4 separate regions of the Homo sapiens genome follow, and all the other regions are linked to region 2. Evidence: promoter capture Hi-C in 16 types of primary human blood cells and fetal thymus (Javierre and others, 2016). All regions are on one chromosome and are shown on one strand. The core of a region is centred on a gene start or on the middle of the fragment in contact, and the rest is flanking DNA. Distances in the headings are between cores, read along the strand shown.

Evidence for each region. Contacts are between HindIII fragments. The CHiCAGO score rates a contact against its expected background, and 5 or more counts as called.
Region 1: a fragment that was not itself captured here is called in contact with the fragment with the promoter of ZWINT in region 2 in 1 of 17 cell types (total B cells); the score reaches 5.1 in total B cells.
Region 3: a fragment that was not itself captured here is called in contact with the fragment with the promoter of ZWINT in region 2 in 1 of 17 cell types (total B cells); the score reaches 5.1 in total B cells.
Region 4: a contact is called between a fragment that was not itself captured here and the fragment with the promoter of ZWINT in region 2, in 1 of 17 cell types (total B cells). The highest score is 5.6, in total B cells.

The regions. Positions count from the first base shown.
Region 1 is chr10:56,652,129-56,655,047 of GRCh38, forward strand. No RefSeq gene overlaps it. Among named protein-coding and RNA genes, the nearest start is that of ZWINT, 290 kb to the left of the region's middle. The HindIII fragment of the contact is 1,971 bases long and covers 435-2,405 here.
Region 2 is chr10:56,359,885-56,362,812 of GRCh38, forward strand. ZWINT (ZW10 interacting kinetochore protein) reads right to left here and starts at 1,375. Exons shown (of 9, transcript NM_007057.4): 1 at 1,312-1,375; 2 at 409-499; 3 at 134-257. The coding sequence starts at 1,352. LOC124902546 (a long non-coding RNA gene) reads left to right here and starts at 1,575. Exons shown (of 2, transcript XR_007062372.1): 1 at 1,575-1,972. RefSeq lists enhancers at 1-459, 1-345, 1,085-1,824, 1,173-1,342 and a silencer at 1,433-1,642. The HindIII fragment of the contact is 11,189 bases long and covers 1-2,752 here.
Region 3 is chr10:56,789,996-56,793,167 of GRCh38, forward strand. No RefSeq gene overlaps it. Among named protein-coding and RNA genes, the nearest start is that of ZWINT, 430 kb to the left of the region's middle. The HindIII fragment of the contact is 1,276 bases long and covers 981-2,256 here.
Region 4 is chr10:56,830,668-56,833,883 of GRCh38, forward strand. No RefSeq gene overlaps it. Among named protein-coding and RNA genes, the nearest start is that of ZWINT, 470 kb to the left of the region's middle. The HindIII fragment of the contact is 446 bases long and covers 1,459-1,904 here.

The DNA.
Region 1 (2,919 bases), core at 170-2,669, 290 kb after region 2:
TAAAACTCTGTTCTCCGAAGTGTTGTTCAATGTGTCCTGCTACCAAGAGGCACACTCTGCATTTTAAGATGGGTTGTATCCAAGCACTTTATTTTCCTTAAGGTAGCCATGTAATTACCAAATGGCTGCAGCTCTGCTCCCATGATTGGGAGGGTATTTTGATACCTAGATGTTCTTTAGCTTCTTTGTTGTTAGAAAACAGTAAAATCTACTAATTATAATTAAGACTAGTGTACTTAAATGTGGAACACATTATCACAGAAATAATACATCTTTATGACTCAAATCTATGTCAAGAAGCTGGTGGACTCTGGGACAAACACATTTAAAACATATATGCTTATACATTGTCAAGCATTTCTAAAATGGGCTTCTATTGAAACATTAGATTTTTCTGCAATTGTTAAATGTCTGTGTGCTTCAAAATTTCCAAAAGCTTCCCAAGAAAATAATCTGAAATTTTATGGAGGTGCTATATATTTTAAGCCATTAAAACACATTCTAACCTTAGAGTTTCAGCTTAAGGTGATTACTGAGTGAATTCTGGTTTTTCAGTAACCTGTGCTCTCAACAGGAAAATAGTCTGTAACATGTATTAATTTTTCTCTCCTCTAAACTGTGATGATGCAAGTTGAAGTCAACAGCCATTACTTAAAAAGTATAAAAATGCTGCCCACATATATTTATACTTATGTCATCAAACTGAGAATGTGATAATCCTTATCAGTGATGCTCCCTGTGGTTGACAACCAGCACCATCAGCATCACTGGGAAGATGCAAAAACCTGGGGTCCACCCCAGACTAACTGAATCAGAACTTCTAGGGTTACAGCCCAGAAATCAGTATATTCTTCAGATCATTCTGATGCATACTAAAGTTTGAGCACCATTTCCTTAGTTTATTATTTGAGATAAAACACTGAAGATGCCTTCTAAGTTATAAATGTATATGGGGTCAATGTAAGTAACATCACCAATCCTGAACACATCCATTCCAATAACCTCACATCAGCAAGAATACCTTTGTCATAATGAGTCATCTTGAACACACCTACAATAGTAAAGAATAAAACTTGTCAATTCTTATGTTGGAAGTAAATAAGAAAAGGTCTAGAATAAAGAAAAACTTTATTTGTCAGGTACAGAAGATTTGAACATGATAGAAATGCAGAAAGAAAAAGAAGGTAGAAAGTGTCTTGATGGGAGAAAGTGAGTAGCCTTGTTTCTGATTTTTTTAAATTGGCTTTTCATATATGAGAGCATAAAAGCAATATGCTGGGAGCTTTTTGAAGAGGAGGGGAACTTCCTTCTTTCTACTCTAGGTCACAGCACCTGGTTATAGCCTAAAAATATAAATAGACACATGAAATGGAGTAAAAAGGATAGTTTCACATTAGTCATGTTATCCCTCTCTCACCTCTGGCCAGCACAGCATGAAAAGAGATACTTTCTGTGTGGGAAAAAAAAGAGGAAAGTATGTGTAGGAACTTGCCTTGGGCCCCAACACTGGGCTTGCCACAGGAAAATTCAGCACTGGGAAGCCTCCACGGTCTCTACATCCAGGATAGTACCTAAGGACTGAGTCATTAGACCCACCCCAGTACCAAATGGGTGCCAATAACCTGTGTAAGAAAGATTGCTTTTTGGCCCACATCACCAATGCCTGACTGCAATGGCCTTAAATTCTGAATAAACGTCAACAGCAAGCTAACTTTAAAATCCAGGGGCTTTGGGTGTGTTCCAGAACTGCATAAGCTCCAAGTGGCCATTGAATTTCAGTCCAAGGCTGCACCAACCTTTGTGGCCACATGACTCTAGCGCAGGCTACACAAGTTGAAGCAATTCTAGGCTTAGGGTGCTTTCTAGTGCTACAAGAGCTTCAGTGGCCATGGATTTAGAGACCATACCAGTTAGTTTGCACAGAATTTCTGGACAGATTTACTGTTGAAGAACAGTCCCAGACAAAGTCAAACTACAAAGGTTAAAGCAAGTACCTAATTTTTCAATGTATACACATTGACACATGACCATAAGGATCAAGAAAAATCAGGAAAACATTTCACCAAATGGACAAAATAAAGTGCTAGTGACTAACCTTAAAAAGATGGAGATGTCTAAACTGCCTGACAAAAATTCAAAATAGGTGTGTTAAATCTCAGTGAACTTCCAAAAAATTCAGAAAAACAATTTTAAAATGTATCAGATAAATTTAACAGAAAGATTTAAACAATTTTAAAAATCAAATAGAAATTCTGGAAATAAAAACACAATGAACAAAGAAAAAAACACCATAGAGAGCATCAACAGCATAACTGATCAAAGATAATAAAGGATCTGTGAACTCAAAGACAGGTTATTTGAAAATATAAAGTTAGAGGAAAAACATAATGAAAAGTCATAAAGAAAGCTTATGTGATTGATAAGACAGCATCAAAAGGGCAAATTACCAGTCATTGACCTTCAAAACAGAATAGATGAAGATAAAATGATAAGAAGTTTATTTAATGAAATAATAGAATAAAACTTTCCAAGCCTAGAGAAAGATATAAATATCCATGTGCAGGAAGGTCAAAATCTCCAATCATATTCAATTCTAATAAGATTAACTCAAGACATTAACACTATCAAAGATTAAAGGAAAAAAGAAGGTCCTAAATGTAACAACAATAACAAAAACAAAACAGCAAATAACATATAAAGGAGTTCCAAAGCTAAGCAAATAACTTCTAAGAAGAAACCTTCCAGGGCAGGAGATAGTTGAATAATATATTTAAAGTGCTGAAGGAAAAAGACTGTCAACCAAAAATACTGTACCTAAAAAACCATCCATAAGATGTGTGTGAGAGAGAGAAAGATTTTCCTAAGCATACAAAATATGAAGTTGTAGAACAGGTATGGTGATACCTGTTCTACAAAAAA
Region 2 (2,928 bases), core at 125-2,624:
GTGAGGGTGGCCTGCTAGCCTGCCTCCCTGCAACACTGGGCCTCCTTCCCATCAGCCAAATGGGAGACCTAACTGAAATCCTCCTTCCTTCCCCACTCAGGTCAGCTGCTACTACAATCCCCTGCCTACTCACGGCTCGTGTCTTCAGAAGCCAAGGGGTCGAGACCCTTAGCAGTGTCCTCCTGAGCCAGGATGTTCTGCAGGAAATCCGCTACCTGAAGCTGGCTGCAGAGCAGCTTGTCTTTCTTCTGAGAGTCCTGCTCAGAGGGAGGGCAGAGACAGGGAACATCCTTACCTCCTTACAGGTTTCCTTAAGTCTGCTCTCTGCCAGTGCTGCCCTGTATCTCAGTAAGAGGAGCCAGGACCAGACCCTGGCTTCTGAAAGGCTCGCTCTCATCTTGTACATACCACCACAAACTCAACCAGGATCTTGGCTGGCAGTTCTGCCTCCTCCTGCAGGCCTACAGGTTCCAAGATGCCTGCCACCTCAGCCAGGACCCTGGAGGGGCAAGGAAACACAGGAAATTGCAGTTTCTTGTGGTGCTAGTTCTACAGTTCGTGTGTGTACACAAACAAATGTGGATGTGTATATCAGTATATATAGTATTGAGAGTCTTGCCTTGACCAGAGTTTACACAAGGGCCTGAAGGGTCCACAGCCTGCAACCAGGAATGGCGTGCATGGAGGGCACACGGTGGTAATACGTGCCAAAAGGAAAATCAGCAGGGCTAGTGGATAAGGAGTTTGAGAAAAGAGCTGAAATTTTAAATAGGGAGTGTCTCACTGAAGAGAAATCATTTGAGTCAAGATGTGAAGGAAGCCAGGGAGATATGCAAGGAAGGGGAAGAATGCTGGGCCTTGGGATCCCTCCTGGCGCTGAGCACCAGCCTTGGGGCAGAGTCTTGGAATAGCTGAGAAAGGACTCAGGGCAGAGGGCTGGATGCCTCGGTCTACTCTAGGGTTTTTCATTATTAGGGACTGGAGCAATCTACGAAGGGGCAGGGATGGGGATGAGAAGTGACTGGGAATGTGTCGTGTTGGGACAAGAAGACAGAAGTGAAACCGTCTCCTAGAGCACATCCTGTGGATTATGTGGATGTGGGGAGCGGCGAACGGTCCCCCAAAGGCTGTACTCCTGGAGCAGGCAACAGACACCTCAGGAACCTAAGACGGGACTGCGGTGAGGATCACTTCACGGCAGGGTCGAACCTCAACAGCTGTACAGGGTCGAGGGCACCAATCATTACACATAGGGGCCCACAAGGTCCTCCCAGGCCCGGCCCCAGCTGCCACTTAGCCGCAAACACTTACTCTAGGGCTGCAGCTTCCGCCTCTGTCTCCGCTGCCTCCATCTTTCCAGGCGCCGAGTTCAGCTGCCTTCCCACAATCCCTAAGATTACTTTGAAGTCACAGTCGACTTCGCGCCGGGGCAGGCGATTGGCTGCAGAGGTTAGTGGGCGGGCATCAAGGACCATTGTGCGCTCTAATTGGCAGGCGCGGATTCGCTCGTTGGCGGGCCTCGCTGCTTGGCGCAAGCGCGGTTATGGCTAGGCGCGCACGGGCTCTGCGCCTGCGCGCTAGTCCTTACGCGGTGCCAGAGACTATAAGTGGGCTTGAGCTCGACCGCGCGCCTGTGGAAGTTCTTTCTCTACTCGAAAAAGGGAAAGCATTTCCTTGAGTTTGCGTTTTAAGGGAAACTTACAGCATTGACACTTTATTTAAAATATTCACTACTGCTGTAGAAAAAAAAAAACAAAACCCCGAAAAACAGTGGGGCTGTTTCTAAGACGCTGGGAATCAGTAAAGAATAGTGATCCGGGAGATACAGGAAGCAAATGATCTGCGCTCAAAAAGCGAGCTGCTTTCAAAGATATTAGTATTTTATAGATGCGATGCAGGAGAGTGAACTCAAGCAGAGCCCAGCCGATTGCCTGCGTTGGCAAAATAGAACAGATATTCTGGGGAGACCAAGGTAGGTAATGTTCTTTGCAGAGTACAGGAGAAAGATAACTGCTGAGAGAGAACTTGGTATTCATTCAGCTGAGTACTGAGCAGTATGTGTCTCAAGAAACTAGCTAAAAGATTTTTAAAGATACCAGGACATGGCCGGTCGCGGTGGCTCACGTCTGTAATCCCAGCACTTTGTGAGTCTGAGGCAGGTGAATTACGAGGTCAGGAGTTTGAGACCAGCCTGGCCAACATGGTGAAACCCCCGTCTCTACTAAAAGTACAAAAAAAATTAGTTGGGCGTGGTGGTGGGCGCTTGTAATCCCAGCTATTCGGGAGGCTGAGGCAGGAGAATTGCTTGAACCAGGGAGGCTGAGGTTGCAGTTAGCCGAAATTGCGCCACAGCACTACAGCCCTGGTGACAGTGCGAGACTCCGTCTCACAAAAAAAAAAAAATACATATATATATATATATAAATATATATATATGGACATTACAGAGGGTCAGAAATAGTCTCTATTTCCACTAACCAGGCTGGAAAACTTCATAGTCCGTAGGACACTGGACAGAGTACACACAAAAAAGTCTTGATTTGATAGTTGTTTACTAATTATTTAGTAGGCAGTAATTAGTCCTAGCTGATCAGTGCTGTAGTGCCATCTAACTCTTAAAAGTAAGACCCAAATGGATCAAACTTAACAAACCATGACAGATGACAAGACCAAACTTCAGCAGTATTTATAGAAATAGAAAAATGTTCACCAAAGGTGCAATTTACATATGTCATACAAAGAAAAATTACCAAGCTTGCAAAAAGAAAAAAAAAAACACATAATGAGGAGAAAAATCAATTGCTGATCAGAACTGAAGTAATGTTAGAATCAACAGGCAAGGACATTAAAACAGTTATTGTAACTATATCCCATATCTTCAAAAAGATATCAGAACTATAATGAAAAAGGTAAGTGGTGCTAAGGATG
Region 3 (3,172 bases), core at 369-2,868, 430 kb after region 2:
TTTTATTTTTCTTATTGATACAAGTGTTATCACTTATTTACATTTTTAAACATTCCACTTAAATTGTGAGTATATATGGTCACCCTCCAAATTAAAACAAAATCCTAAAGACCTATGTATATCCAATTTTCATTAGTTAGCATGGACCCATTTCCTTGGATAAACAAAGCAAATTGACCTAACTATGATAAGGCTAAGGATGCTGTCAGCATATGTAAATGGGCTATGAATCATGTGTTTGAGGTAGCACTGCAAGCTGAATTGACTGTCATAGCTCATTCATGTATTCATTCACTCAACAAATATTTATGCCAGACACTACTATATGTGAGACAGTATTCAAAGTATCAAAGTTAGAGCAGAGAACAAAACATACAGAAATTAAAGTGTAAGCTAATATTTTCATTTGAGTGACTTGGGATAACATACTTTAGATACCAAAATATTTTGAAATGGAATGTAGCAAAATTGAAAAGGGATTATATGACATTCTTTCATCTATGCAAAGAGTGTATTTGGCAGGGAGGAATAAGTTATTAGGGCAGGTTTTATCTATATATCTATATTTTATAGCTATATCTTTTTTCTAAAGTGATGTTATTATATAATACATGTGAATTATGTAAGACGTCACATGAAATACAGCATTTAATGATGGACTTCCTTTTTGTCCCACTAGATGAAGTAACTTTTTAAACATGTATGCAGCAGACAAAGACCTTTAAAAAAAATGCAAGGTTTAGATTAACTCTAATAAGCTTTTCTCAAGGCAAGCTTTCATAAACTAATCCAGCCTCTCAGATCCTCCCTATAAAATGTACTAATATTCAGACTAATTTACTGTTCTACATTAGAGAGACAGTAAATATAACAAGTAAATAAAGGAGAGCTTGCCTTTGAAGTTAGATAGCCATGCGCACATATTCTCAATCTTCTATTTGCTAGCTATGGAAACTAAGGCAACTTCCATAACTTTTCTAAGCTTGGATTAATTTATAAAATTAAATTTTAAAACTATTTAACTCAATGTTTGCAGAGACAATTCAATTATATAATGAAAGGCAAATCTAGACATATTCTAAATGCTCAATTAATGTTATTCATCAGTATTTTTCTTTTATTATTAACATCTCTTCTACCAAATTTTTCTAAAGAATATACTTGTTTCAACAAACTCATTTTTCTGTCTGCAAAGAGTAATTATTCTTATCACCTAAAAACTCAATTTTAGCTTCCAACATTCTTTAGTTTATTAAAAAGAAAGATTTAATTTCAAAGCCTAATTCTGTTGAATTCTATCACACATTGACAGATTTCCTATACTAGTCTGAATGTTCATAAATTGGATTTACTTATTTTGTCTCCTATTCAGCTACAAGGAAATATCCAGAATTTCTTATTTACAAAGAATCAGGTTCATTCTAACTGGGGATATTTCATGGATTCAATGTGCTCATCAGCCAACATGCTCTTAAGTAAGCCAAATAAGGTATTCTTAACTCCACATTGTAATTGAAACCTTTGGAATCCAGTTAAGATAAAAAAAAAAAAACCTCTTGTGTGGCAGAGGTAGAATGACAAAAACTCTGTGTCAGACAGCATAAGAAATAGTCAAAGCAAAGAGAACATGTGTCAGTTAGGATAGACTAGGCCATTTTGTGATAACATAAGCTCCCAAATCTTCTTGACTTACGGTAACAAAGGCTGGTTTCTGGCACATGTGACAAGTCTGTAACAGATTGGCCATGACTCTACTTCACTATGAGACCGAAGCATTCAGCCCAGCTTTTAAGCATTAATGGTCATGATGGCATAAAGAAACAGAACATAGAAACACATATGGGCTCTTAAAGTTTCTAACAAGATTGACAGCCTCTTGCCTCTTTCATTCATAATTTATTGGTTCAAGCAAGGAACATAGTCAAGCCTAATGTCAATAGGGTAGTGAATACATGTAAATGATCCTATCTACTACACTGAACATACTACCAGTAATATCATATGGATATATCACTCTTCATTATATATCTTGTATGTTCTATACACATTACTTCATTTCATCCTTATATTAATCCTGTGAAGACAAAGTATATGTCATTATCTCCATTTAATATGCTTAAAAGCTGAGTTAAAAAAATGTGGAGTCTGGGAAGATGACAGAGTAGAGAGCACTTGGAATCCATCTCCCCTCTAAAACAACAGTCGTACTGGAAGAATTCGATGTGACTATTTCGATAAACTTTTTAGTCAGTTGGAAGCTTGCCACTTTGAGAGGAAGGCTTGGTTGGTAAATTGCAGTACTTTCAGTCAATTTCAGCTTTCAGCTCAGCAGCAGCTACCCATTCCTTACCCCAGTCCAAAGGCAGGCACATATTCCTGATGCAGCTTGCATGAAGATTGCAGAAACCAGGGTGGGTAATAAACACCCTGTCCTCCAATATCTGGATCTGTAGTCTGATAAATGATGGCATTTATAATCATGGAAGTACAGAAACAAAAGAGAGTAGACACTGTTGCATACCCACATTATTGCAAGCCACTACCCATCCAATGGAAGTGGATTTCAGGGCATTTAAATGGCTAGTACCCTTCCCCGCTTTATTTTTCTCTTTTTCTCCTTTTGTGAAGCTCTACATTAAATACCACAATATTCAAAAGCAACAACATGCATTGGAGAAATTAGAAACTCACTGTGTGTGACCAGGGAAAGATGCAGGCTCAGAAAAAAAAATAAGAACTAAGTTCACAACTCAGCCTGACCCTCAGCATGAAGACAGCCTACAAAAATTAAATCAAAACAAAAGCGTAAAACAGCAAACCCTGATAAAAAAGAAGAATGTGACTTCCATAGCTGCCACATTATTACATTCACATGTCAAGTTTTCAATAACAACAAAATCACAATGAATAAAAAGAGATAGGGAAATATGGTCCTTTTAAAGGAAAAAAGTAAGCTAACATAACTGTCCCTGAGAAAGGCCAGATGGCAAATATAGACAAAGACTTTAAAACAGTTATCTTAAAGATGCTCAAAGAGCTAAAAAAATGATGTGAAGAAAGTCAATAAAATGATGAATGAACAAAATGAAAGATCAATAAAAAGAAAAGCAACAATGAAATAAAAAAGAAATTTAGAGCTGAAAATTATAATTGCCAAAATAAAAAAATCCTT
Region 4 (3,216 bases), core at 432-2,931, 470 kb after region 2:
TTCCACCATATTGGCAGTAAATTTCTCCACTGAAATCTCGATCTTCCAAACTCATTCAGGAGGATTGGAATTAACTTCTTTTTAACTTCTACTAGTGTTTATATTTTGATCTCTTCCCACGAATTATGCATGTTCTTAGTGGCATTTAGAATGATGAATCCTTTCCAGAAGGTTTCAAATTAACTTTGTCCAAATTCATCAGAGGAATCATTATCTATGGCAGCTATAGTCTTACAAAATGAATTTCTTAAGTAATAAGACACAAAACTCAAAACTATTCCTTGAATTACCAAAATGTGATAGAGAAACATAAAATGAGCATATACTCTTAGGAAAATTACAATAATAGAATGTCTTGATACAAGGTTGATGCAAACCTTCAATTTGTATAAACACAATATTGCAAAGCACAATAACATGCAAAACAATTAGATATGCCTGTATATCCTTTTATAAAATATCTCAAGATGCTTTTGTGACTTCTTAAAGAAATTTCATAAATTAACAATTTTTTAATGTAATTTGGGACAATGTCAATGCCACATGTACATAAGTCATTATACAGGGACAGATTCAGAATTACAGGCCATAAAGAATTATGTTTCTTGGGTTCTTAGAACATATAAAACAATATAAACTGTTGCAAAATCAACAAAATAAGTTGAAATAAATTTTTAAAAATTGATATTCAAAGGAATTTTATTGAACATATGAATATGTGCTACAGGTTCTACTCCTTAATACTTATCATGAAGTTAGAAGGGCTAGTCAAAAAGACCAGGATAAAAATATCTTATTTATCAGTTCAAACTAAAAACCAAGCTACTTTATATATCTGTTGTTTAGTTTTAGATTAACAATAAACTATGATTGCCCATGATCAAGAGAAAAAAACTACAAGATATTCAATCAAAACAATCTTTAGCTTGACCTAAGATAAAATGCCTGAGTCTGGAATTCAATCCTGTCATATTTGTTGTAAGATTTGGGCAATAACTTGAACTCCTAATAAATTGTTTTATTATGGCATTTCTTTCTCTCTGCACCTATGAAAAATGTGAGAATACGATGAGAAAATACTTTTGGAAGTGGAAATGTATCACATAATAAGGTGGTAATAAGTTAGTAGCCCTGCCTACCTCGGTGATTACCCGCCTCTTGTAAGTTATAATACCCACTCTACCCCAGCCTCTGGTTTCAGCCACATGGACTTTTATAACAACCATGTGGTCTTTCAACTAAGTCATACTGCCCCTTGAGCAGGCTTTTTGCCCAACAGTTTGTTCCTTCACCAGGATATTCTTGACCTTTGTGTGCTATGCATGCCTCCTACACTCCTCTTTGCTTAATTTTGTTCTGCTCATCTTCAGATCTCCACTCAGACACCTTTTCCTCAGAGTAGCTTTCCTCAAACTATAGAACACCTGTTCCTGCTTTCCCTCTTCCCACTTTGCCAAAAGCTTAATCAAGATCTGTCACAAATCATCATAGTCATCGTGCTTTCCCTTCAAAAAACTTGTCAGAGTTTTAATTTGACAATTATTTATAACTATTAAATGGATTTTGATAACTTATATGATCTCTGATAATATTGGTGTTTGTTAATCATGGTATTTCCAGAGCTTAATACAGCAATATGCATATATTAAATATTTAATAACTAAAGGTTCAATGAATCACATGAATAAGAATACAGATTTCAACATCTCTTTTTTTAGGTCTTTGCTTAAATATGAGATACATCCTTGATCAACTTATTCAAAATTGCATCACATTTACTTCCCACTTTTCTTTCCTTCATCCTTCTTTATTTTTCTGTATAGTATTTATTTTCTGACATACCATGTAACTAATGCTTGTTACAAAGTAGGGATAAAGAATAAATAATTGATTAAACATAATAAAGCTTTGGCTTTTATATTTAAAGACAGGTCAAATAGTTTGGGCAATACTATTTATTCTTAATGTTTATTAGAGTTGGGCTTACAATTAGTTATTATATCTCTTCGATGCTGGAGTTGCAAGAGGGTCTTCAAGAGGATGAAGAAGTAGTGAATTTGTATCATTGAGAAGCAGCTATGCATCTGGACTGCAAATACAAAATGCATAAATTCCAATTCTGGCTTCAACACTTAGAAGCTATAAGCCCTTAACAAGTTATTTAATCTTTTTAAGCCTCAATTTCTTCAACTATAAGGCTGAGAAAGGATCACGATAATAGTTTTTTCTTTTTTTTTTTTTTGTTTTTTTACCTAATAGGATTGCTAGGAAGATTACAAGAGATAATACATGTAAATGTTTTATACAGTATTTGATATATAGCAAGAACTCAATAAATATTACTTTTGCTGTTACCTATGATGATGCTAGAGCAGGAGATCACTTCCAAAAATGTGAGAAAATACAGGCATTGATGCAATTGCTCTGGAGGTCTGATATAATCATATTAGTTCATTGCTATAACATAATCCTATCCACACAGGCCATCCCCTGATAATTACTATTGGTATAACTGCAATTAATATATATGCTTTTATACTGTATGAAAAACGCTTGCTGATATGCTGGGTAGAGTGAGGATACTAAACCATTTACAAGAGTCTTTTCTTCCAAGTAGTTTGTATGAAGAAACATAATCTGAGACAATAATTAAAATATGACCTGAAATATTAACAAAATAATTGTTATAGAAATCCAGTGGACAGAAAGCTCATCTGCTGTTGTGTTAATTAGGAAATTTATATAGAGATGGTTGTCTTTTTACTTGGACGTTGACAAAGGATCAAGGTAAACCTGCAGAGATCAACCTACCACATTATAAAAATTGATGACACTCTTCTCTTTCAAAAAAGTGAAATATCAGAGAAGTTCAGCTTTCCTAGAAAATATGATAAGCAGCCTCATTCACACAAAATTTTAATTTTGCAAGCACTTTTGTTTGGATATAAGTGCAGCATTCTCATGTAAGTCAAAATTTACTTTTCACAATCTGATACTCAACAATTTGTTTCTTCCTTTTTTTTTTTTTTTTTTTTTTTTTGAGGCGTCTCACTCTGTCACCCAGGCTGGAGTGCAGTGGTACAATCTTGGCTCAATGCAACCTCCATCTCCCAGGTTCAGGCAATTCTCCTACCTCAGCCTCCTGAGTAGCTGGGATTACAGCTGCCTGACACCACGCTTGGCTAATTTTTGTATTTTTAGTAGAGACAGGGTCTC